4 separate regions of the Homo sapiens genome follow, and all the other regions are linked to region 1. The links are contacts of gene promoters, found by promoter capture Hi-C in blood cells and fetal thymus (Javierre and others, 2016). All regions are on one chromosome and are shown on one strand. The core of a region is centred on a gene start or on the middle of the fragment in contact, and the rest is flanking DNA. Distances in the headings are between cores, read along the strand shown. Region 1 holds the start of OSER1 (oxidative stress responsive serine rich 1). Region 2 holds the start of TTPAL (alpha tocopherol transfer protein like). Region 3 holds the start of GTSF1L (gametocyte specific factor 1 like). Region 4 overlaps ADA (adenosine deaminase).

Evidence for each region. Contacts are between HindIII fragments. The CHiCAGO score rates a contact against its expected background, and 5 or more counts as called.
Region 2: the fragment with the promoter of TTPAL here is called in contact with the fragment with the promoter of OSER1 in region 1 in 15 of 17 cell types (megakaryocytes, erythroblasts, fetal thymus and 12 more); the score reaches 19.1 in megakaryocytes.
Region 3: a contact is called between the fragment with the promoter of GTSF1L here and the fragment with the promoter of OSER1 in region 1, in 2 of 17 cell types (non-activated CD4 T cells and naive CD8 T cells). The highest score is 8.4, in non-activated CD4 T cells.
Region 4: a fragment that was not itself captured here is called in contact with the fragment with the promoter of OSER1 in region 1 in 1 of 17 cell types (fetal thymus); the score reaches 5.6 in fetal thymus.

The regions. Positions count from the first base shown.
Region 1 is chr20:44,209,428-44,214,637 of GRCh38, forward strand. It overlaps OSER1 (oxidative stress responsive serine rich 1), which reads right to left and starts at 1,344. Exons shown (of 4, transcript NM_016470.8): 1 at 1,269-1,344. OSER1-DT (OSER1 divergent transcript) reads left to right here and starts at 1,533. Exons shown (of 3, transcript NR_038339.2): 1 at 1,533-1,650. RefSeq lists an enhancer at 754-1,373 and silencers at 1,033-1,102, 1,298-1,746. The HindIII fragment of the contact is 3,146 bases long and covers 1-2,389 here.
Region 2 is chr20:44,474,184-44,479,919 of GRCh38, forward strand. TTPAL (alpha tocopherol transfer protein like) reads left to right here and starts at 1,691. Exons shown (of 5, transcript NM_001039199.3): 1 at 1,691-1,808. RefSeq lists an enhancer at 1,487-1,576 and a silencer at 1,667-1,796. The HindIII fragment of the contact is 9,114 bases long and covers 1-2,582 here.
Region 3 is chr20:43,724,721-43,730,223 of GRCh38, forward strand. GTSF1L (gametocyte specific factor 1 like) reads right to left here and starts at 2,282. Exons shown (of 1, transcript NM_176791.4): 1 at 1,444-2,282. The coding sequence starts at 1,974. The coding sequence ends at 1,528. LOC101927200 (a long non-coding RNA gene) reads left to right here and starts at 4,199. Exons shown (of 4, transcript XR_936741.3): 1 at 4,199-4,407. The HindIII fragment of the contact is 9,111 bases long and covers 1-5,503 here.
Region 4 is chr20:44,634,260-44,639,827 of GRCh38, forward strand. It overlaps ADA (adenosine deaminase), which reads right to left. Exons shown (of 12, transcript NM_000022.4): 2 at 1,968-2,029. Among named protein-coding and RNA genes, the nearest start is that of ADA, 15 kb to the right of the region's middle. RefSeq lists enhancers at 1-5,568, 1-2,415, 1-219 and a cis regulatory region at 337-486. The HindIII fragment of the contact is 842 bases long and covers 2,412-3,253 here.

The DNA.
Region 1 (5,210 bases), core at 94-2,593:
CATCCCCAGATCCCCATTCAAAGAAAGGGCTGTACAACTAACTCCGGACAACAGATATAATTGGCTTGCCTTTCTTCATTAATATTAAATTTGTGGGAGACAGTCTTGGCGTTTTCACTGCAGTGAACTCGTGAAGTTGAACAATCTCCAAAGAGATGAAACTTTAAAAAGCCTATTCGAAGTTAAAGTCAAATCACACCAGGCAATTTAACTTTGCCTCGGATTTTCCACAACCTTACAAAAATTACAAAGTTCTTCTAAGTTCCTCCATCAAAAGGCCAAATTCCTGGTTTTTTCTTTCAACAAAATGGATGCGTCACAATCTTATTTACATCTTGCCGTTTTAACCAAGACCTCCTTGAATCCCAAGCCTAGGTCTACACTTCCAGGCCCCTGAGAAGACCTAAGAACGATCAAGAAGGGATGCGCGGGTAAGCGTTGTCATCACAACATTAAAGATTTCGAAACTCCCAGACCACCAGAAAGCGTAGAGTATGGGGAAGAAAACCAAACCCAGCAACTCTAAGAGGCAAACTAGACCGGGAGGAAACAATCGGCCCCCAGGACAAAAAGCACATTCACACCTCTCCGTGCAACCCACTCATCCCTTTATACTCGCAGCGCTGCAGCCAAAGCACAAAGTTCTTTCTTTTCACCCAGAGTCTGTGCCTGTCGCGGTTAAACATGAACGGAGGAAAATTCCTAGTCAGAACCCAGAGGGGTAGGACGGGGCTTGGAGTGTGGGGACAACGCCAAGCAGGGAGCTGTCCAGGGGCACTGCCCGCCCGGGGTCTCCAGCTGTGAAGTTGCGCTCCTCGGGAGATTCCTGGGGTCAGAACGAGAGGCTGGAGTCGGAGCGAGGCACAAGGGATGCGGGAGAAGAAAGGAGTGGGGCCGAAGAGGTAGCCAAAGAGAATGGGGCTCCGAGGCGAGAGAGAAAGGACTGGAAGGGGCAAAGGGCGGCCAAGGAGGGCGAAAAGGGGAAGCTGCCGCTGGGCGGGAGACGGCGGAGGAGCGAGACGGGGCGGGGGACCGCGGGAGGACGGGAAGGCGGGAAGGGGAGAGAGCGTGGAGCTCGGAGCTCCAGCAGGCACAGGCCGCGGCAGATAAGGGGGCGCGGAGAGGCCCAGGCCCGGCCCAGGCAGGAGGCGTCGGGAGACGACGCGACCCAAGGCGGGCGGGCCCGGGGAAAACCGCCCGCGGCCAGACCGGCAGTGGAAGCTGAGACGCAGTGCTGCGGCCCCTCCCCGTCACGTCAGGGCACTTACCTCCTCGCAGCTGGGACGCTCCGGTGATGCGGGGCAGTCAGTTCAGAGCGTCTCTCCCAAATCTCGGCACCCGACTGACCCGGATCCAAACCAGCCAAGGGGGCGGCCCGCGCCTCGGGAGTCGCGTTGCGCCTGCGCACTCCGGCATGCACCCCTCCCCCTGCTTATGCTCCTCCCACCCCAGTGACTCGGCAGCGCGGCAGCCGACGACTGCGCAGACGCAGGGCGGCGGCCGCGCCTCTCCAACGCCCCGCACCCGCCCCCCTCAGAAGCACGTGCGCCTTACGTAATTTCCTGTTATTCTTCGGTTTGCCTCCTCCCAGTGGCGTGGATTTGCTCCCGACCCGCTTTTGGGGCGTGCCTGCTTCCTCCTCTCTGTTAGGTGAGTGAGTAGGCGTCATTCTTCACAGTAGTCCTCTGCCTCCACCGCCCCGGGATCTCCTTGCGCTCGGTCCTCTACGTGGAGTCACCTATGCAGAGGAATTCCACGGGGCGGGGGCGAGGACAGGGTGCGGGGGTCTTTATGGCAGACAATCCCCGGCTGAGCGCTTGGCCAGAGTTTCTGTGATGCTAGAATCTGGACTGCCTGCGACCTCTCCGGGACTCGGACACCAGCCCTCGCCTCCTGGTGATCTTTTAGGTCCTGCAGAGAAGTGAAGAGGTATTGGACGTGGCCAGGGTCAATAGTGTGAAGCCAGAATTAGAATTGAATTGAAATGCCTTCGGTTTTGATATCTCTGCTGTTTGTCTTGAGGCAACTGCTTTTCCTCCTTTGGGCCTCTCAGTTTTCCATCTAGTAAGTGAGGAAGTTGAACCTTATCGGTGAATCTCGTGTTTTCAGGCGTAGACTCCTTTGAGAATCTGGTGAGAACTGTAGATCCTCTTGCCAAAGAAATGCACCTACACACCAAATTTTGCAAAAAGATTTAGGCAGTTCACCAAAGGAGATGAATTTTAGGATTCTTTACATTTTTCTGATTCTGAATGTTGCTCAGATGGTAGGCGGGAAAAGGTGATCTGTGCAACAGCTGCCACCCGCTCCATCACCAGGACTGGTTCTGCTGATCTAGCTGTGCCTCTCCTCGCCTGCCAATCTCCAGCTCCACGTCTGCACTGCTCAAAGCTTCGTGAGAACAGATGATTTTGCGCAATTGAGTTGGATGGCGTTGATTGTGGCCCACCCCTAGAGTGAGGGTTTTTCCCTGAACCAAAACTGGCCCCATCCACCGTCATTCCCCAATACCTTAGTTGTAGTCAACTAGATAGGCTGCCGAAGATGGTTTAACTGTGTCCAGCTTAACTACAGCCAGGCTTTGGAATGCCTGGCCTATGTCTGTAAATGAAATCTAACAATTTATTGTATAACGTTGTTAAACATGAAGCATGATGTTGGCCCTGGATAAAACATTTTAAATTCTCGTCGTTCATACCAGAGGCTCAGTAACTGACCGGTTGAAAGAAAACTGTTCATTGTAACCTAATGATGCTAGTTAGATAGCATTAGATTATGTTAGAGATCAGATAACTTGTTCTAGCTGCCTTTGTCCTGTCTCACAGTGCTAGTAAGTCAGGATTTAAACTGCCCTTCTCAACATCTCTTGGACAAGAAAAAGCGGGAAATATGATGTATTTATTTTCTCAGACCTTGCCAAGTGAAATGTATCAAAACCAAACATGTCTTTTTAAGCTGCCACTTCAAAATATAACTTAAGATAAAATCTCATATATCCTTGAGAAGGCCTGGCACGGTAGCTCATGCCTATAATCCCAGCACTTTGGGAGGCCGAGGCGGGTGGATCACTTGAGGTCAGGAGTTTGAGACCAGCCTGGCCAACATGGCGAAACCCTTTCTCTACTAAAAATATGAAAAATTGGCTGGGCATGGTGGCGCATGCACCTATAATCCCAGCTACCCGGGAGGCTGAGGCAGGAGAATCTCTGAAGCCGGGAGGCGGAGGTTGCAGTGAGCCGAGATTGCGCCACTGCACTCCAGCCTGGGCCAACAGAGCAAAACTGTCTCAAAAAAAAAAAAAAAATCTCATATATCCTTGAGGGGAAAGAATTGTCTGGATCGTGATTGAATTCCCAGGGCTTAGCACACTTCCTGGGGATTAGTAGATGCTCAATACAGTTTTGGTGAATTCTCATTTTACCTGCTTTCCATCCCTAATTATATTAAATACCAAAAACTAAAAAGTTACAGTATTTCATTTTATGTAAGCACATCTCCATCATAAAGAGTTAGATGCTTTCCAAGAATGTGACTCATTACTCGGGGAGTACTTGGAAGGTGGGAACCTCTTGTGAATGCTGAAGCCTGTTAACTCACACACCTGACGTGGCCTGAAGTTTTAAGTCATTATACATAGGACTGGCTCACGGTGTGATACATCATGACTTGGAAAGAGATAGAAAAGCTACAAAATGGGATGGATCTGAGTGAACAAAAAGCCAGATCGGTGTCCTATACCAGCAATTCCAAGTCTTTTTAACCATGGGAAAAAAACCTGAATTTGTGTGTGGACTTTATATTGAAGAAATCAACTTTGTATTAATGCACATGGTAATGCCATTTAATTAAAAAGCTGTGGTAGATGTAAAATTCCTCTAACAGTGCTTCTTTCTTGCTACAAGTGTCTTGTACATGCTTTAGTAAGAGAGACTTAATTCCATGAATTTATACTGCAAGAACAATTTATATAGGAAGATAATAGTTTCTCTTAAAAAATAACTTTGGAGAAGCCAAGTCCAAAGTAATAAAGAAAATTATTTGCCTAACCATGTGGCTGCCATCCTACCAGTTGGTAATCTGGAAAATATTCTGTTCTTATGTTTTAAGACTCAAATTAATTTATTTCTTACCTCGATATACTTTTTTAAATGACTTAGGGTAGGCCAGGCGTGGTGGCTCACGCCTGTAATCCCAACACTTTGGGAGGCTGAGGCAGGTGGATCACCTGAAGTCAAGAGTTCGAGACCAGCCTGGCTAACATGGTGAAACCCCATCTCTACTGAAAAATAAATAAATAAATATACAAAAATTAGCTGGGAGTGGTGGGCACACACCTGTAATCCTAGCTACTTGGAGGCTGAGGCATGAGAAGCCCTTGAACCCAGGAGGTGGAGGTTGCAGTGAGCTGAGATCATGCCACGGCACTCCAGCCTGGGCTACAGAGCAAGACCTTGTCTCAAAAAAAAAAATAAAATTAAATTAAAATGACTTTGGGATAGAAGATAGTGATAATGATTATTTGTCTTGATTTACAAGATGTTAGCTCATGTAATCTTCATAACCAATTTGTGAAATGTACTTCTATGATGTCTGTTTTACAGCTGAGGAAACTAGGCTCAGAATAGTTAGATAACTTGTCCAAGGTTACATAGTTTGTAAGTGGTAGAACGGGGATTCCAATCTAGGCAGTCTGACTATAGCACCCTGCTGACCGCTGAGTTACACTGCTTTCCTTAGCCTCCCCACCTTCACCTCCTGTATGTACCCAGCTAGACCAGGGATACCTGCTTTCACCTGGAAAATACCACTGGGTTTGAGGAAATTGGCTGCCCAGGGCCTAGGACTGTTCCAGCCACTCTTTCTTTGCATATATTTGAACCCAGCAGGCATATTTCCCTCTCAGGTCTTTTGTATGTATTTCCCCTCCTGGAGCATTGTTTACTCACAGTTCATCTTGTCATTCAAAGTCTCTGCTCATATCAGCTCCCCAGGGGGGTCTTCCTTGGCTTCCCCAGCACCCCCTTCACTGTGTATCCCTTTACCCTGCTTTATCATAGCACTTGTCACTACCTGACAATGTATAGTTATTTTTTGGTCCCCTCACTAGAATAGAAGCTACCCGAGGACAGGGACTTTGTGTCTTTTTTTTAGTCACTATTTTTTTTAATCAAAGATGCACATTTTCCCACAATTTATTAATAGCGGTTAGA
Region 2 (5,736 bases), core at 441-2,940, 270 kb after region 1:
GTGGGGGCCTCGGATTACAGGCGTGTGCCACCACGCCCAACTAATTTTTGTATTTTTAGTAGAGACAGGGTTTCACCATGTTGGCTGGGGTGGTCTCATCATACTCCTGATCTCAAGTGATCCACCTGCTTCAGCCTCCCAAAGTGCTGGGATTCCAGGCGTGAGCCACTGCACCCGGCCTTACCTTACGTTTTAAAAGATCTCACAGATGTGATTAATGTAAGGATCTTGAGATGGTAAGATTATCCTGGATTATCTGGCTGAGCCCAATGTAATCCCAAGAGTCCTTATAAGAAGAGGGAAGCAGGAGGATCAGTCAGTAGTAGAGGTGACAACAGAAGCCAGAGGTTGAGGTGATTTGAAGAAGGGGCCATAAGCTAAGGAATGCAGGTGGCCTCTACAAACTGTAAAAGGAAAGGAACTGATGCTTCCTCCAAATCCCCAAAAGAATGCAGCCTTGCCAACACCTTGATTTTAGACTTTTGACCTAGAGAACTGCAAGAGAATATATCTGTGTTGTTTCAATCCATGAAGTTTGCAGTAATTCCTTGTAACAGTAACAGGAAAATAATACATAGATTTAGCAAACAAAACAAAATCCAGGATGCCCAGTAGTCATATTTGAATTTCCTATAAACAACAATTTTTAAAGTATAAATGTGTCCCAAATGTTGCATAGGACACACTTATCTGTGTGTATGTGTGTGTGTGTTTGGAAAGGAACATGCTTAAATGTTTATCTGAAATTCAAACTGTAGTGAATGTTATATATTTTGTCTGTCAATCTTAGAAGTGATGAAACTGAGAGCAGGAGTCAAAACTCATGATTCCCAGGTCGCCTCCATACTGCTGCCCCCTGCCCCTCAATCTGGCAGAAACTGCCACGTTCTTGTGGCCCTCATGGGTCACTTCCCATCTTCTTGGGACTCCTCTTGCCCCTGGGGTAGGAAAATGAAAAGACTGTTTAAGGTCGTTTCTTTAGGCTCAGAGTTCTCCTGGACCACCAGAGGTTCTGCCTCAGAGGGACCTAGGAGATTTGCCTCAAAGTTGCAGTTGCACAAAATACTTGCGGGCGGATCTTAATGGACTGGGGTGGGAGTTAGTAAAGCCTTTGTCTGGAGGGAACGTAATGAACCCCAAAGCAGGAAAAAAGTAATTATTGAATCAGGCTCCAGAGCAAGAATCAGGTTTCAGGTAAGGAAACGGAAGCACAAGAAGGAATGGGGACTTGCTCCAGGTCACTCAGTTAATGACAGACAGATGTCCCCTGGTTTGGAGTCTCCCTTTTTGGAGCAGCTAGTCCTGATAGCAGCCATAGTGGGGGGAAGTCTAGAATGCTAATCCTGAGGTCCGGGTTTGAAGCCCTTTACTGCCTTGATTGCCAGTTTCCCTTTCCTGAAATAGGGGAATTGCATAAATATGAGGAGTTAATGAGATCATGGATGTTAAACAACAGGTACATGTTAGCATGTTCTTGGAAAATGGCAGCTTCTTTCCTTCCTTCTCTGAGCCTCAGTTTCCCCATCTATAAGCCGGGTTTGACAAGCGGCTGGTGCCCCAGCTCCTCCCAGCCACTCCAGGTCCGCAGCTCGGAGCTCCGGCAGCCAGGTGGGGACTGAACACCAACGCCGCGGGGAGGCGTCGCACATGCGCGCTCCTAGGCGGAGCCCCGCCTCCCACGCCCTGGATCGTCACTTCCGGCGCGAGAGGCCGGGCAGGCCGGGCAGGGAGTGCGGGTCGGTTCTGCGTGCGCTGCCGGACGAGGCTCCCGCCGCCGATTGACCCGCGCTCCGCCCGTAGTCGGGCCGGTGAGTGCCCGCGAGCCCATCCGTGTGCCCTGGGAGCTGAGGAGAGGGACCCCTGAGAGGGAAGGATAACCGGAAGTGGGGACCAGAGGAGCGAGAGACCCCAGGAAATGGGGACACCTGGGGAGGGGGTGACAGCCGGAAGTGGGGGCCTCGGAAGGTTGTCCACGGGATATGGGGTCTCGGGGGCTCTAGGAGAGATGGCTTCCTGACCTCTCCTTGTTGAGAGGAAGGGGTGGAAAGGAAAGTGATGCTCCAGAAAGGATGGGCTCCAGGTGGGGGAGATCTTTGGCTTCACCGTTACCAATGGTGTCTGCATCTCACTCATATGTCCGCCTGTCAGCTCATTCACCAGCCTGTGACTGAGTCCTGCTGAGCGCTCGGCACTGCTGAGTCCCTGGAGAGTCAACATGAAGCTCCAGGTGGAGGGTACAGATTAGAAGCCCAGGGTGGGGCTAGACGCATCCTTGCTCTGCCTCACCGGGTGTGCCCCCTTGGGCGAATCGCTTAACCTATATCCTCCGCTGATGTGTACAGACCACTGCCATGTGCCCGGCACTGGGGGTGGCAGTGGACATGGCAGACAAGCCCTCTGCCCTCGTGGAACTTAGATTCTAGGGGACAGTCCTTTTTGTCCTCCTTTGTAAAATGGCAACAGTAATAGCGCTCTCACCAAATAACGTGAAGATTAAATGAGGAAATGGGTAAAGGGCTTAGCAATGCTTGATACATGGTAAAATGCTCAAGTATGCATTCTCTTCATTCCACTATAATGTAAGCTTTATTAGGCAAGGAATTGTATTGTTTGCGTCTGTGTTCCCAGTGCCTGTGAGCACAGTGCCTGACATATATGGTAGGTGATCGGTAATTATTTGATAAATGAGTGCGTGGTGAAACTGACTCTAGATAAATGCCCATAGCATTGGACTGTAATTTCTAAAAAAGAAATAGGAACCCAGTTCTGTGGAAAACTGGAGGGAATCACCCTCAGGGAGTTTGGGAAGGATTCACTGAGGTGGTGACATGGCAGCTGAGCCTGAGCTGTCAAGTTAGGAACAAATTAGAAGAGGAAATTCCAGGCAGAGTGTATCAGAAGTGCACGAGTTATTCCAAGGATGATGGGTTATTAGTTTGTTTTGACTGGCATTTAATGTGCATCAAGGTGGGGTGCGATGGAAAATGAGGCTGGAGAGGGGCTTTGAGGTGAGGCTTGTACCTTGTGAACACTGATGTTTGATGGGATTGCAGGCATCTCTTGGTTACTTCCATAGAAACAAAGCCATAGTTGTTCCATTCCTCACTTAGCATACCTGTGCCAACCAGACTAAAGTCATTCAACAAATATTTATGGAGTGCAGATTATGTGTCTAACACCATGTTAGGCGCTGGGTTTCAGGTGATGAACAAGACAAACTTGGATGTTGCTCACAAATTGCCAACAGACAATTGCAACAGGGTGGGAGAAGTGCGGGGGAGGCACCTAACCTGGCTGGGGGTCAGTGAAGGCTACCTACTCCAGGCCACCAGCATCTCTCAGCTGGATTATTGCAATAGCCTCTAAATGGTCTGCTTCAGTCCTCACTCCCTTAGAGTCCATTCTCAAGACAGCAGATTGGTCCTTTTAAAATATATTTTTATTTATTTATCTATCTATCTATTTATTTATTTATTTATTTATTTATCTGAGATAGCGTCTCGCCCTGTCGCCCAAGCTGGAGTGCAGTGACATGATCTCGGCTCACTGCAACCTCCGCTTCCTGGTTTCAAGCGATTATCCTGCTTCAACCTCCCAAGTAGCTGGCACTACAGGCCCGCACCACCATGCCTGGCTAATTTTTGTATTTTTAGTAGAGACAGGGTTTCACCATGTTGGCCAGGCTGGTCTCGAACTCCTGACCTCAGGTGATCCATCCACTTCAGCCTACCAAAGTGTTGGGATTACAGGCATAAGCCACCACACACAGCCCAAGAAAAAATTTAAAAATTAGCCAGGCGTGGTGTGTGCCTATAGTCCCAGCTACCTGGGAGGCTGAGGCAGGAGGATTGCTTGAACTTAGGAGTTCGAGGTTGCAGAGAGCTATGATTGCGCCACTGCACTTCAGCCTGGGTGACAGAGCAAGACCCTGTCTCTCTCTTAAACAAAAAAGTGCATGAGTTCAGGTCCTCTAAGAAGCAGACACTAGGATGAGGTTAGACGTGCTAGAAATGTAGAGGCAACCCTTGCGAAGGACAGCACCTGGGAAGGGAGCTGGAGAAGTCAGGAAGAGCCACTGGCAGTGATGCAGATCAGCTCCTGTGAAGGAGGTTTGGGCAGCAAGTCTCTGACTGCAGGGCAGTCCCAACAAAGGTTTGGCCAGGCCCTCAAGCAAACGCTGCCTGTTAGAGGAGTCCTATGTCTCACTAAATCATTGGCTAGGAGCAGTGAGGCCACAGAAGGGCTGTGGAAAGTTCTGGCTTCCCCTGGATAGTGGATCTAGAGGGACAGCCACTGGGGCCCTTTATCAATTACGTTTTCCCAGCAGATCTGACCGGCACATATTCCCGACTGCCACGATAAGTTACATGGGTGTGTAGTAAAAAATTCAAACAGTATAGTAAAAATCCTCTTTCTCATCTTAAATCTTCACTTGTCCAGTTCTGTTCCAAGAGATAACCATTGGTAAGTTTCTTATATCTCTTTCCAGAAGTTTTGTGTGCATTCACAAGTGTATGTGTATAGTTTAAAAACGTGATTTTCTGTACACTATTCTGCAACTTGCTTTTTTAATATGTCAATTCATAAAGATCTGCCTACTTTTCGCTTTTTTTGTTTGTTTGTTTTGAGAGGGAGTCTTGCTCTGTCACCCAGGTGGGAGTGCAGTCATGATCTCGGCTCACTGCAAGCTCTGCCTCCCGGGTTCACGCCATTCTCCTGCCTCAGCCTCCCTAGTAGCTGGGACTACAGGCACCTGCCACCACGCCCGGCTAATTTTTTGTATTTTTAGTAGAGATGGGGTTTCACCGCGTTAGCGAGGATGGTCTCGATCGCCTGACCTCATGAGTCGCCTGCCTCGGCCTCCCAAAATGCTGGGATTACAGGCGTGAGCCACCGCGCCCGGCCCCCTAATTCTTTTTCATGACTGACTAGTACCCCATTAATATGGTAATATTACTTAACCAGTCTCCCCTGATAGGCAGTTAAGATGTTTCCAATCTTTTATCATTATAATCAATACTTGTGAAGGCCATGTGCATATTATGCATATATATACAAGTATATGTCCTAGAAATGGAATTGCTGACCCAAAGGGCATGTAGGTTTACATTCTGAAGATATTGACAAATGCCCTCCAAAGAGGCTGTCAATTTATACTCCCAGCAGCAGCAAGCATATTAGAGTACGTTTATTTTTGCCAATCTGAATCTGAGTTGTTTTTTTTTTTTTTTTTTTTTTTTTTTTTGAGAGTCTTGCTGTGGCTGGAGTGCAGCAGCGCCATCTCGGCTCACTGCAACCTCCACGTCCCGGGTTCAAGCAATTATCCTGCCTTAGTCTCCCAAGTAGCTGAGATTACAGGCACTCACCACACCTACCTAATTTTTGTATTTTTAGTAGAGATGGGGTTTCACCATGTTAGCCAGGCTGGTCAGGTGATCCGCCTGCCCCAACCTCCCAAAGTGCTGGGATTACAGCATATACATTACAGTTGTTTTAATTCACATTTATTTAATGATGAATAAGGTCGAGCACCTATTAATACATTTATAAGGAAGGCCCTGGTGTTTATTAGGGAGTGTATAGTCTGCTGTAGCTGCTGCCTGCCTCCCTGGGGACTAACAGCAGCCGGCCTGGGGTCAGACTTGCGTGTATGGTTTAGATCCAGTTCATTGCCCCCAGTTGAGAAACACTGCCCTGAGGTTACTCGGTTTTTACAGAAGTGTTCCTGTCCCCTAC
Region 3 (5,503 bases), core at 1,032-3,531, 480 kb before region 1:
AAAAAATATAGTTTAATTTTTGACCAGATAACATATTCATATATATTCCCATGTAAAAGATTCTAAAGAGTCAATAGTAAAGAAGGGCTCTCTCTTGTCTTCCCTGGAGGCAGACAATATCAGTTTCTAGTGAAGAGGCAAGCAAATTTTTCTATTAGGCAACAGGTTGAAAAATTTCAGGCTTTGTGGACAGATCTCCATTCTAGAGTATCCTTAAAGAGAAATTTTATGCAAAAACAAGCACATACATATTCATGTCTTCTCCCGCAACTCTCCCCAAATGGTGGCATACTGTATAGACTGCTCTGGACTTGTTTTTGTTTTTTCTTTTCTTTTTCCTTTTTTTTTTTTGAGACAAAGTCTCGCTCTGTCACCCAGGCTGGATTGCAATGGCGTGATCTCGGCTAACTGCAGCCTCTGCTCCCGGGTTCAAGCTATTCTCCTGCCTCAGCCTCTTGAGTAGCTGGGATTACAGGTGCCCACCACACGCCCGGCTAAATTTTGTATTTTTAGTAGAGATGGGGTTTTGCCATGTTGGCCAGGCTGGCCTCGAACTCCACACCTCAGGTGATTGGCCCGCCTCCGGCTCCCAAAGTGCTGGGATTACAGGCATGAGCCACCGGGCCCGGCCTGGACTTGGTTTTTATCAGTTAAACTGGGGGTTGGCAAACCATGGCCCACCAGTCAAGTCCAGCCTGCCACCTGTGGCTGTAAGGCATTTTATTGGAACCTCTGTTCATTTGTTTACATATTATATGTGGCTGCTCTCGTGTTGCAGTGGCAGGGCCGAGTAGTTGCAACACAGACTGTGTGGCTGACAAAGGCTAAGATATTTGCCATCTGGCCTTTTACAGAAACAGTTTGCTGACCTCTGAGCTCAACAGTGTGTCTCAACCTTTCTATATCAGCACAGAAAGAGCTTCCTCACTTTTTTTAAGGCGGCATAATATTTTGTTGTATGGCTGCAGTATAACTTATTTTTAATCAGGCCCTTTTAATGGATATTTAGGTCATTTTTGACTTTTTTTTTTGTTGCTTAAGACAGGATCTCACTATGTTGCCCAGGCTGAACTCAAGCGATCCTCTCGCCTCAGCTCCCAGAGTAACAGGCTACAGCTGTGATTCAACACACCTGGCTCATTTCTAACTCTTTTGCTGCTGCAAATAATGCTGCAGTGAATAAGCTAGTACTTAGCTCATTTTCCACATGTGTGATTATATTTACAGAATGAAGCCTGGAAGTGGAATTGCTCAATCAAAGCCTGTATGCATTGATAATGTTTATAGCTATTGTCAAATTGCCCTCTGTGGAGGTTGTACCAACTGACATTCTCACCAATGTTATGAAAGTGCCCATTTTGCCCTACCTTTGCCAGCAGAGTATTTTAAGCCTTTTGATATTTATCAATCTGCCAGGTTAAAAAAAGAGGTAGCCCAGGGTAGTTTACTTTGCATGTCTTTTATTCTGATGCATTGCACGTTCTTCCATGCATTGATGAGGCGTGTGCTCCTTCCTCAGCTGGCAGTTTACTGTCCTGGTCTGAGGATCTTCTGGGGACTGGTCTCTCTTGCTGACTCTTTCGTGTCATTTTCACAAACAACCTTTTGAGGAAAAAAAGTCTTAAGGACAAACACATGCTGGCAATTAGCGCCATCGACATTCCAGATATCGGGGCTGGGAAGGCAGGGTGAGACCTGCTGGGTGTCATCGTTCTGCTCTGAACTAGGAGGACTGACTTTCAGAGGGTTCTCGGTGTCCTCTTCTTCCACAGCGCTCCTGTTGACACAAACAGCCTCATGTTCCTCCAGATTTTTGATGGGGACCACGTGGCAGGCGTTGTATTTGCAGGTGGCCATCTTTTTGGCTTTCTTGGGGTTCTTTCTCCTGCACGATGCCAGGTGGTACTGGAATCTGCTGAGTGGGATTCGGTGGTGAGGATCATAAGGGCAAATTTCAAAGGCTTCTGGCTCCATGAGAAATTCTTGAAGCAGGGTATCTCACTGCTAGAGTCTAACGGAAATGCTTCTTGTGGAGAAGCCCTTTTGTAAGAAGGATGGAGTTGTCCTCTGCCCAGTTTTGGCCCTTGGGATTCTGTAGGTGACGGTCTTAACTTGTGGTCTGTTCTCTAGGACTGTGAGTGGTGGATTAGAAGAGAGATGAGGAGCTGCCAAAAGCAGCTACACAGAGAACAGAGTTAGCAAATGGCACCCGAGACAGAACTATAGCAGATGCAAGAGCCAAAAACCCACAGCCGCTTGACTCACGGATATACTATGATGTCAAGCTGCAGTCACCGGTGGTCACAATGGGCAGCCTAAGTCATCAGGAAGAGGCTATTGTGCACTGCTTGGGAGGGGTGGATGGCTTTGGGAATGCTGCCATCTAAAATTGCTCATGGATGTATGTTGTGACTTAAGTCTTTTAACTGTACGTATTTGTTTTTTGTTTTTGTTTTTGTTTTATTTGAGACAGAGTCTCGCTCTGTTGCCAGGCTGGAGTACAGTGGTGCGATCTTGGCCCACTGCAATCTCCGCCTCCCAGGTTCAAGTGATTCTCCTGCCTCAGGCTCCCGAGTAGCTGGGATTACAGGCACCTGCCATCATGCCCGGCTAATTTTTTGTATTTTTAGTAGAGACGGGTTTCACCATGTTGGCCAGGCTGGTCTTGAACTCCTGACCTCAGGTGATCCACCCGCCTCAGCCCCCCAAAGTGCTGGGATGATAGGTGTGAGCCCCTGCGCTTTGCCAGGGCTGGTTTTTGGATGTGATTCTCAGGGCCGTCTTTCTTTACCCTTCTGCTCTGCTGAGGCCCACAGCAGCCTAGTCTCCTTGGGTGTGGGGGAAGGGTTTAAATCTATTCATATATCGCAGAAGGTGAAGCCTTTTGGTGTTCAGCTTAACATGGGAAACATTTCCTATAAAACGCCCCATCTTAGGTCGACCCTGCCGTTGTCCCTCACAGAACTGGACCAAAGTCTGAATGGACGCAATTGACACATATCTCAGGGTGTTAGTGGTTTTGGTCCTCTGACATTCTATTTACATGTCTGGTGTTAGGTAGGATTTCTTCTAAAAATTGGCCTGGAGCTCCTTCCCACCCCCCACCCTGTTAAATTGTTTCTCAAGATCTGAGTGACAGTAGAGAAATACCATATTCCTGAATAGGAAGACTCAAAATCATAAATGAATATTCTCTGTAAACTAAATTACATAAATTACATAGTCATCCTAAATTGATACATAAATATAATGCAATTCCAAATAATTTTTGTAGCTTTATGTGCTGATATCTGATAGAGCAAGTCTCTGCTTGTTATTAGTTTTCCCCCCAAAAGCCTTGACTATCTTCAAGGATTTGTTATTCTAGATCATGTGTCAACAAACTATGGGCCCATGATTCAAATCCAGATGGCTATCTGCTTTTGTAAATAAAGTTTTATTGAAGCACAGCCACACCCATTTGTTTATATATTGTCCATTGGCTGCTTTTGAGCTAGATTTGAGTAGTTGCAACAGAATCCAGATGACCTAGAAACCTCTAATGTTTTCTGTCTGGCCCATTATAGAAAAAGCTCACCCATCCTATTCTTGGTGGTGGTTAAGGAAGCTGACTGTATTCAAATTCTACCTCCTGCCACTTACCAGCCATGTGACCTTGGGGAAGGTGTGTGTGTGAGTGTGTGTGTGTGTATGTGTGTGTGTGTGTTTCCTGGTATTTACTAAGCTCTATTGATGGTGTCTTTTCAGGTAGGCTTTGTAGTTTTCTTTCTATTTTTTGCACGTTAAAAAAAAATTAATCTATGATGCTTTATGGTTTTTTCTTTTTCTTTTTTTTTTGTCATTGTAAATGACACTTTTTCCATCTCTCCACATCCTAGCTATGGTGTTCAGCCTTTTTTGAGAATTGAAGTGATTGGCTTTGTCTACATTGTTACATAATTGCAACTGATCATACATGTGGGATGTCTTGTTACTATCATATGACATGCAGACAATTTAGCAACATGACACTCACTGATGTCATAGTAAGAAATTGTAATGGGAACCCAGGTATAGACAAAAGATTAGACAAAGGATTCTAAAAAAAGGCATCTTTCATAACTACACCATTTATTCTGGGTGTGCCAGTCAGGATAGGCAAGGTTAGGCTGCAATAACGTACAGTGCCAAAACTTCAGTAGCTTAAAACAACGAAGGCTTATGAGTCACTTTCAAGTCTAAAGCAGGTTTCTGGGTTGGGGAGGGGTATTGGGGATCTGCTCCTTGTGGTTAATGGAGCCAGGCTGATGGAGCCTCCATAGCAACACTTGCTTCCTTCTAGAAGAAGGAAGAGGATGTGGGGAGTCATGCGCGAGCTTCCACCAGGAAATGATAAACATCACTTCCGCTACTGTTTCATGGTTCAAAGTAAGTCCTACCTAACTTCAAAGAGCAAGGAGGTACGGTCTTTCCACATGCCCAGAAGGAGGAGAATAGGAACTTTGGGAAGTCCTGAGGGCTTCCCCAGTCTGCCCTTCTCGTCACCAGCATTCATTTCTCTTTTCTCCACACACACGGAGCATATTCTTCCCCATGGAAGAAAACCCAAAGTCCTAGCTCAGAGTGGGGGATCAATGGCTTACTCAGTGCTCTCCTGGGGCTTCTTGAGATCTTGAGATCTGGCTCTTACCCCAGACCAGTGGAATTCTAGTGCCTCAAACCAAGCTGGCTCCTATGAGGAGTATGAGGCCAAGAAGTTGTGTTCCCTGTACCCCAACCCACTCACCCTAGGGATAGCTCCTGGTTTGCTCTGCTGAGTGTCCTTGGTAAACTGTACCTTCCATATCATGCATGTAACACAGAGCCCATTTTCTTCAAGCCTACAGCCCACTATTAAAGGAAATATGGTCGGGTGCAGTGGCTCACTCCTATAATCCCAGCACTTTGGGAGGCTGAGGTGGGCGGATTGCTTGAGCCCAGCAGTTCGAGACCAGCCTGGGCAACATGGCAAAACCGTATCTCTACAAAAAATACAAAAATTAGCCTGCTGTGGTGGTGCGTGCCTCTAGTTCCAGCTACTCGGGAGGATGAGGTGGGAGGATCGCTTGGGAAGTTGAGGCTGCAGTGAGCCTAAATTGTGTTACTGCACTCCAGCCTGGGCAGCAGAGTGAGACCCTGTCTCAAAAAATATATTAAAATAATTTTTTTTTGAGACGGAGTCTCGCACTGTCGCCCGGGCTGGAGTTCCGTGGTGCGATCTCCGCTCACTGCAAGCTCTGCCTCCTGGGTTCACGCCATTCTCCTGCCTCAGCCTCCCGAGTAGCTGAGACTACAGGCGCCTGCCACCACGCCCGGCTAATTTTTTGTATTTTTAGTAGAGATGGGGTTTCACCGTGTTAGCCAGGATGGTCTCCATCTCCTGACCTTGTGGTCCGCCCACCTCGGCCTCCCAAAGTGCTGGGATTACAAGCGTGAGCTACCATGCCTGGCCTAAAATAATATTTTTTAAAAGGAACTATAGTGT
Region 4 (5,568 bases), core at 1,583-4,082, 430 kb after region 1:
GGCCAGGCAGAGATAAGCCAAGAGGTTTCACCCCACTTAGAGATATAAGCTCCAATTAATAAGAATATTATCATTAAGTGACATTTATGGAGCACATTAATGTGTGCTAGGCCCTGAACTAAGCATTTTACGGGCGTCACTTACCAAAACCTCTAACTGACAGGGGGTAATGGCCAGGGCCATGGACTCGGGGGCAGACTATCTGGGTTCAAACCTCCGCCCTGTGCTTACTGGGCACCTTACTCCACCTACCACGGCTCAGTCTCCTCATCTGTAAATGACGGCAATAGAGTTCCTATCTTACAAATTGTTGTGAGGCTTCAATAACTTAACCCGGGTAACGCACTTAAAGGAGTGTTTGGCACACAGGAGGTGCTACTGTGCTTATGCCTTGCAGTTAAATAGGAATTAAATCAATGGCAGCTTCCTGGGGCAGAAGAAGGTCCCTGGAAGTGCGAAAAGATGGAGAATAGTGGACTTACCAGAAATCTCTCAGGGAGTTGGTGGAGATGCTCCCGAGAGTTGGGGGCAACCCCCCGGGATCCCTCATTCTCTCCATGAGGGCAGGCCTCTGAATAACAGGATTCTGGCTTATGGAGCAGAAATGTTCAAATTTGGGTCCCGAGCTGAATTTCAAGACTGTGACAGAGAGGCTGAGTTCTTTCAGCTCCAAACAAAATGAGTGTTGTGCAAACATCCGAGGAACACAGGTCTGCGGGGGCAGGGCTGGGTGGACAAGGAGCCCCTAGCTCCTAGGTCATCTCTCTAGGGAGGGCCTGTTCTTAGCCTCAGTTGATAGAGACCAAGTTCGCAGACAGGAGATAATATGTCCAAATTTGAATCCAGATCCACTGGCCTTTAAAGTCCCTGCCCTTAAAAGCTGGTCCTAAGAGAGGAGCTGCTGTGAGCCCTTGAGGTCTGGGTAGGAAGGGAAGAACCTTCCTCGCTGGGGAACAGGGGGACCCTCTGGCCCCCTAGCATCTCTGAGAGCTGAGGCAGGAAGTGTGTTCTCACTTGGAAGATGCAGAGATTTAGGCCCAGAGTTGGGGAGCCACTTTTCCGTGACTCCTAGCAGGTTATGACCCTGATGATGTAGTAAAGCCTTAGGGGTCAGACAGCCTTGGGTTCAACTCTTGATCTGCTATTAATTTGTGTGACCGTGGACAACTGTCTTGGCTGAGCCCATTCCCTCCTCAGTAAAATGCAGAGAGCGTATCCTCCTCTTCCAAGCGTGGAGGAATTCAATGAGCTGATAAAGCCCAGCCCAGCTCTAGGAGATGCTCAAGAAATTGTACTGGCATCTCATGTGAGCACATCACCTGCTATATATAGGCTCTCAGTTAAGTCAAAAGACAGGAGCCAGGCACAGTGGCTCATGCCTGTAATCCCAGCACTGTGGGAGGCCAAGCTGGGTGGATCACTTGAGGTCAGGAGTTCGAGACCAGCCTGGCCAACATGTGAAACCCCATCTCCGCTAAAAATACAAAAATTAGCTGGATGTGGTGGCATGTGCTTGTAATCCCAGCTACTCAGGAGGCTGAGGCAGGAGAATCACTTGAACCCAGGAGGTGGAGGTTGCAGTGAGCCGAGATCATGCCACTGCACTCCAGCCTGGGCGACAGAGCAAGACTCTATCTCAAAAGAAAAAAAAAAAGACGGATTCAGCCCTGGGAACTACCTTCATGCACGTATGTGGGTGGGTGGGGAGAGCAGGCTCAGGCCTGGCTCACCTGACACCAGGAGGACAAGACTCAGAGGCCCAGAAAGCTCAGGAGTTGGTCTGCGGGTCTCCAGCTCAGTGCTGAGGCCTCCATGTCCTCACAGTCCCACTTCTGGCCTGGAGCTGGCTTGATTCCCACAGGGAGACAGGAAGGAACAGTGACCCTGGAATTCCCCAGGGGCCTCTGGGTGGAGCTGGGGACCCCACTCAAATCCCAGGGAGAGAGGGCTCTTCTGTATGGACTTACCTGCCATAGTATAAGATGGTTTCAGGCTTGATGGATCCGTCTAGGTGGACATGCAGTTCCACCTGCAAGGGGGCAGGGGGAAGAGAGAGAGAAAGGGAGAGAGAGAACAAATACCTATGAGTTCACGAAGGACCTTTCAGAGCTTAATGTTAACATTAATCATGATAACCATTAGCCACCATTTTACTGGCTGGCTGCTGACCCCATATACTTCGGTAAACTCTGTACTGCACTATCTCATTTAATCCGCTCCTGGGATGTGGGTTCAGCTGTTATCTCGATCTCTTTCACAATTGAGGACACTGAGGTTCGGAGGTGTTAAATATCTCATCCAAGGCCACACAGATTGCAAGTAATAGAGGCAGGAGCCCAACCCAGTATCTTTGTTCTTAATCGCAGCTGGTGAGTGGCAGAGGCGGAATTCTAACCCAAGCCCAATTCCAAAGCTTGTGCTCCAGGTCACGTAGGCAGCTCCCGCTCTCAGCCAACTAAATAAACTACTTTAACAAAAGGGATTGACCCAGATGTCCCAAACTAGGGAAGAGTCACAGCATATTTCAAAATTCAGGATCCATTTTCGTTTTCTTTTTTTTGAGACGGATGGAGTCTCGCTCTGTCTCCCAGGCTGGAGTGCAGTGACATGATCTCCTCTCACTGCAACCTCCACCTCCTGGGTTCAAGCAATTCTTGTGCCTCAGCCTCCGGAGTAGCTGGGACTATAGGCAGGTGCCACCACGCCCAGTTAATTTTTGTATTTTTAGTAGAGACAGGGTTTCACCATGTTGCTCAGGCTAGTCTCGAACTCCTGACCTCAGGTGTCCACCCACCTCAGCCTCCCAAAGTGCTGGGATTACAGGTATGTGCCACCGCAACCGACCCAGGCTCCATTTTCAAAAGCAGATGCTACTCAAGCATAGCCTATCAGGAATCAATATTAGGCAACGGAAGATCTTTCTAGTACTCTAGAGTTTAAGAGTAGGATCCTTGGAGGCAGCCCATCTGGCTTGACTCCCAGTTCTGCTGTGTGACCTCAGACAAGACACTTGACCTCTCTGAGCCTCAGTTTCCTCAACTGAAAAACAATGGAATATTATGCCCCCGTGTCCAAGAAAAATTGTAAGGATTAAAAAGGGCAGTGTAGGTGGACATGGATAGCCCAAAGGAAACAGCCCCTGCCGCTCAGTCAGGGTGTTTACCATGAGCTGTTAGGAGAAGCACAGCAGGCAGTGGGAGATGGTGGGGAAAGGGACTTTGCTGTTCCTGCTGTTCCTGTTCCAAATGATGGAAGCTTTCCCCCTAGCTAGGGGAGATCCAGAAAACTCTCAGCTGACATCTCATGCTGGGGTGGGGAGCATGGAGAGCTGGATAAGAAAGTTGGCTGCCCTGGCTCAGGGAGGAACAGCCAAGGAGCTGCTGGCCCAAGGGCGTCTAGGAGCACATACATGAGCTGCCTCCTGCAGAGGAAACCCAACCCAGGCCCAGGGGAGGCCAGCAGGGAACAGAGACACCAGAGGTCCTATCAGCAGGACCTCAGAGTCATCAGATCTCTCCTGAGGTCATCCAGCTGGCAGGGGACAGAGCGGTCTTCACACCCAGTCTCAGGGCCAACTTAGTTGTTGAATTCCCTGACAAAATGAGTTCAGTTCCCACCCAGCCAAACGTCTGTTTCTCGGGTTCTCAAAATATGCTCAGCATTGGGAATACTGAAGCTTATAGCCCAGGGAACGGCCAACCAGCTGTGTGACCTCAGGCAAGGGACCTCAACTCTCTGAGCCTCTGTTTTCTATCCTTAACCCTCACAGGGCTATGGAGAGGGCCCAGCCAGAGAGCCGGAGTCACACTGTATAGAGCATCATGCGGTTAGAGCTGGAATCTCGGCTCCTCCACTCACTCCCTGCTTGACCCTGAGAAAGTCACTTCACTTCCTGTGCCTCGGCATCCTCATCTGTTAAGTGGGGAGAATGGCAGTCCTTCCTTCTAGGCTTCATGAGGGTTAACTGCATTAGTAGGCAGGGAGTTCTTGGCACATAGCAAATGCTAAATAGTTGTCAACTAAAAGTCAATGAAGGCTGGGCATGGGGGCTCACGCCTGTAATCCAGCCACTTTGGGAGGCCGAGGTGGGTGGATCACCTGAGGCCAGGAGTTTGAGACCAGCCTGGCCAACATGGTGAAACCCCATCTCTACTAAAAATGCAAAAAATTAGCCAGGCGTGGTGGCGCACACCTGTAATCCCAGCTACTTGGGAGGCTGAGACAGGAGAATCACCTGAACCTGGGAGGCAGAGGCTGCAGTGAGCCGAGATTACGCCACTGCACTCCAGCCTGGGCGACAAGAGCGAAACTGCATCTCAAAAATAAAAAATAAGAATAAAATAAAAGTCAACGAAGGCCTGCGCTCCTGCTGGATGCTAGATTGTAGAGTTAAACAGGAGGGTCCAAGTCCTGTTCCTGGGGCTTGTACAGGCCCCAGAGTGGGAGAGGCATTAAGCAAATGTCACATGGGAAAATGTACAGTCACAAACCAAGACGACTCCTTGGGAAGTACGAACACAGTCCTATGACAGAGGGTAACAAACAAGAGAAGTGAATACATCTAGAGGGCCAACAATGAGCCTGAGCGAAAAGCTAGAGGATAGCGAGGAACCCACAACACAAGGCAGGGGTGCGGAGGGAGGCAGGAAGAAAATTCCAGGCAGAAGGAACAGCATGTGCAAGGCCCTATGGCAGGAGAAAACGGGGTATATGAAATGGATTAAATAGAGGTTCAGAGAAGGGAGGGTTCATGGTACTGGAGAGGCTGCAGGATAGGACCACCCAGGCAGGGCTGTGCGGGCCACGAGGAGTCAGGCTTTATCTGGAAAGCACACAGAGGCCATTGCAGGGTTGGCAGCTGGTTAGAGAAAGAGGATGGCTCCTCCAAGGCCAGTTAGAGGCTACTGCAGCCATTTGAAAGATGACGGTGGCTTGGACCAGGGTTGTGAGGTGCATAGAGGAAAAACAGGTGGATAGAAAGAGATGCCAAGGCTCACACTTCAGGTTAGGCCTGGGTGGGGAGCAATTCCCGCAGTTTGAGACAGAGAACTCTGGAAGAGAAGACCAAGTCCTGGAGCTCCCTCCAGGAGGGAGGATGCGGGGGAGGGAGGCATGATTGGTTTGGTTTTAGTTATGTTACACTAGAGACACCTTTTGTTTTTTGTTTTTTTAAGACGGAGTTTCACTCTGTTGCCCAGGCTGGAGTGCAGTGGCTCCAGCTCAGCTCACGGAAACCTCCACCTCCCGGGTTCAAGCGATTCTCCTGCCTCAGCCTCCCGAGTAGTTGGGACTACAGGCACCCACCACCATGCCCAGCTAATTTTTGTATTTTTAGTAGAGATGGGGTTTCACCATATTGGCCAGGCTGGTCTTGAACTCCTGACCTCAAGTGATCTGCCCACCTCGGCCTCCCAAAGTGCTGGGGTTACAGGTGTGAACCATCGTGCCCAGCCAACTGGAGATGCCTTTGAGATATCCAAAGGTAAGTGGAAGAACCCAGTGGGATACAAGAGTCTAGAGCTGGCCTGAGAAGCCCAAGCTGGGAATGTAGGTAGGAGTGTGGGTAAG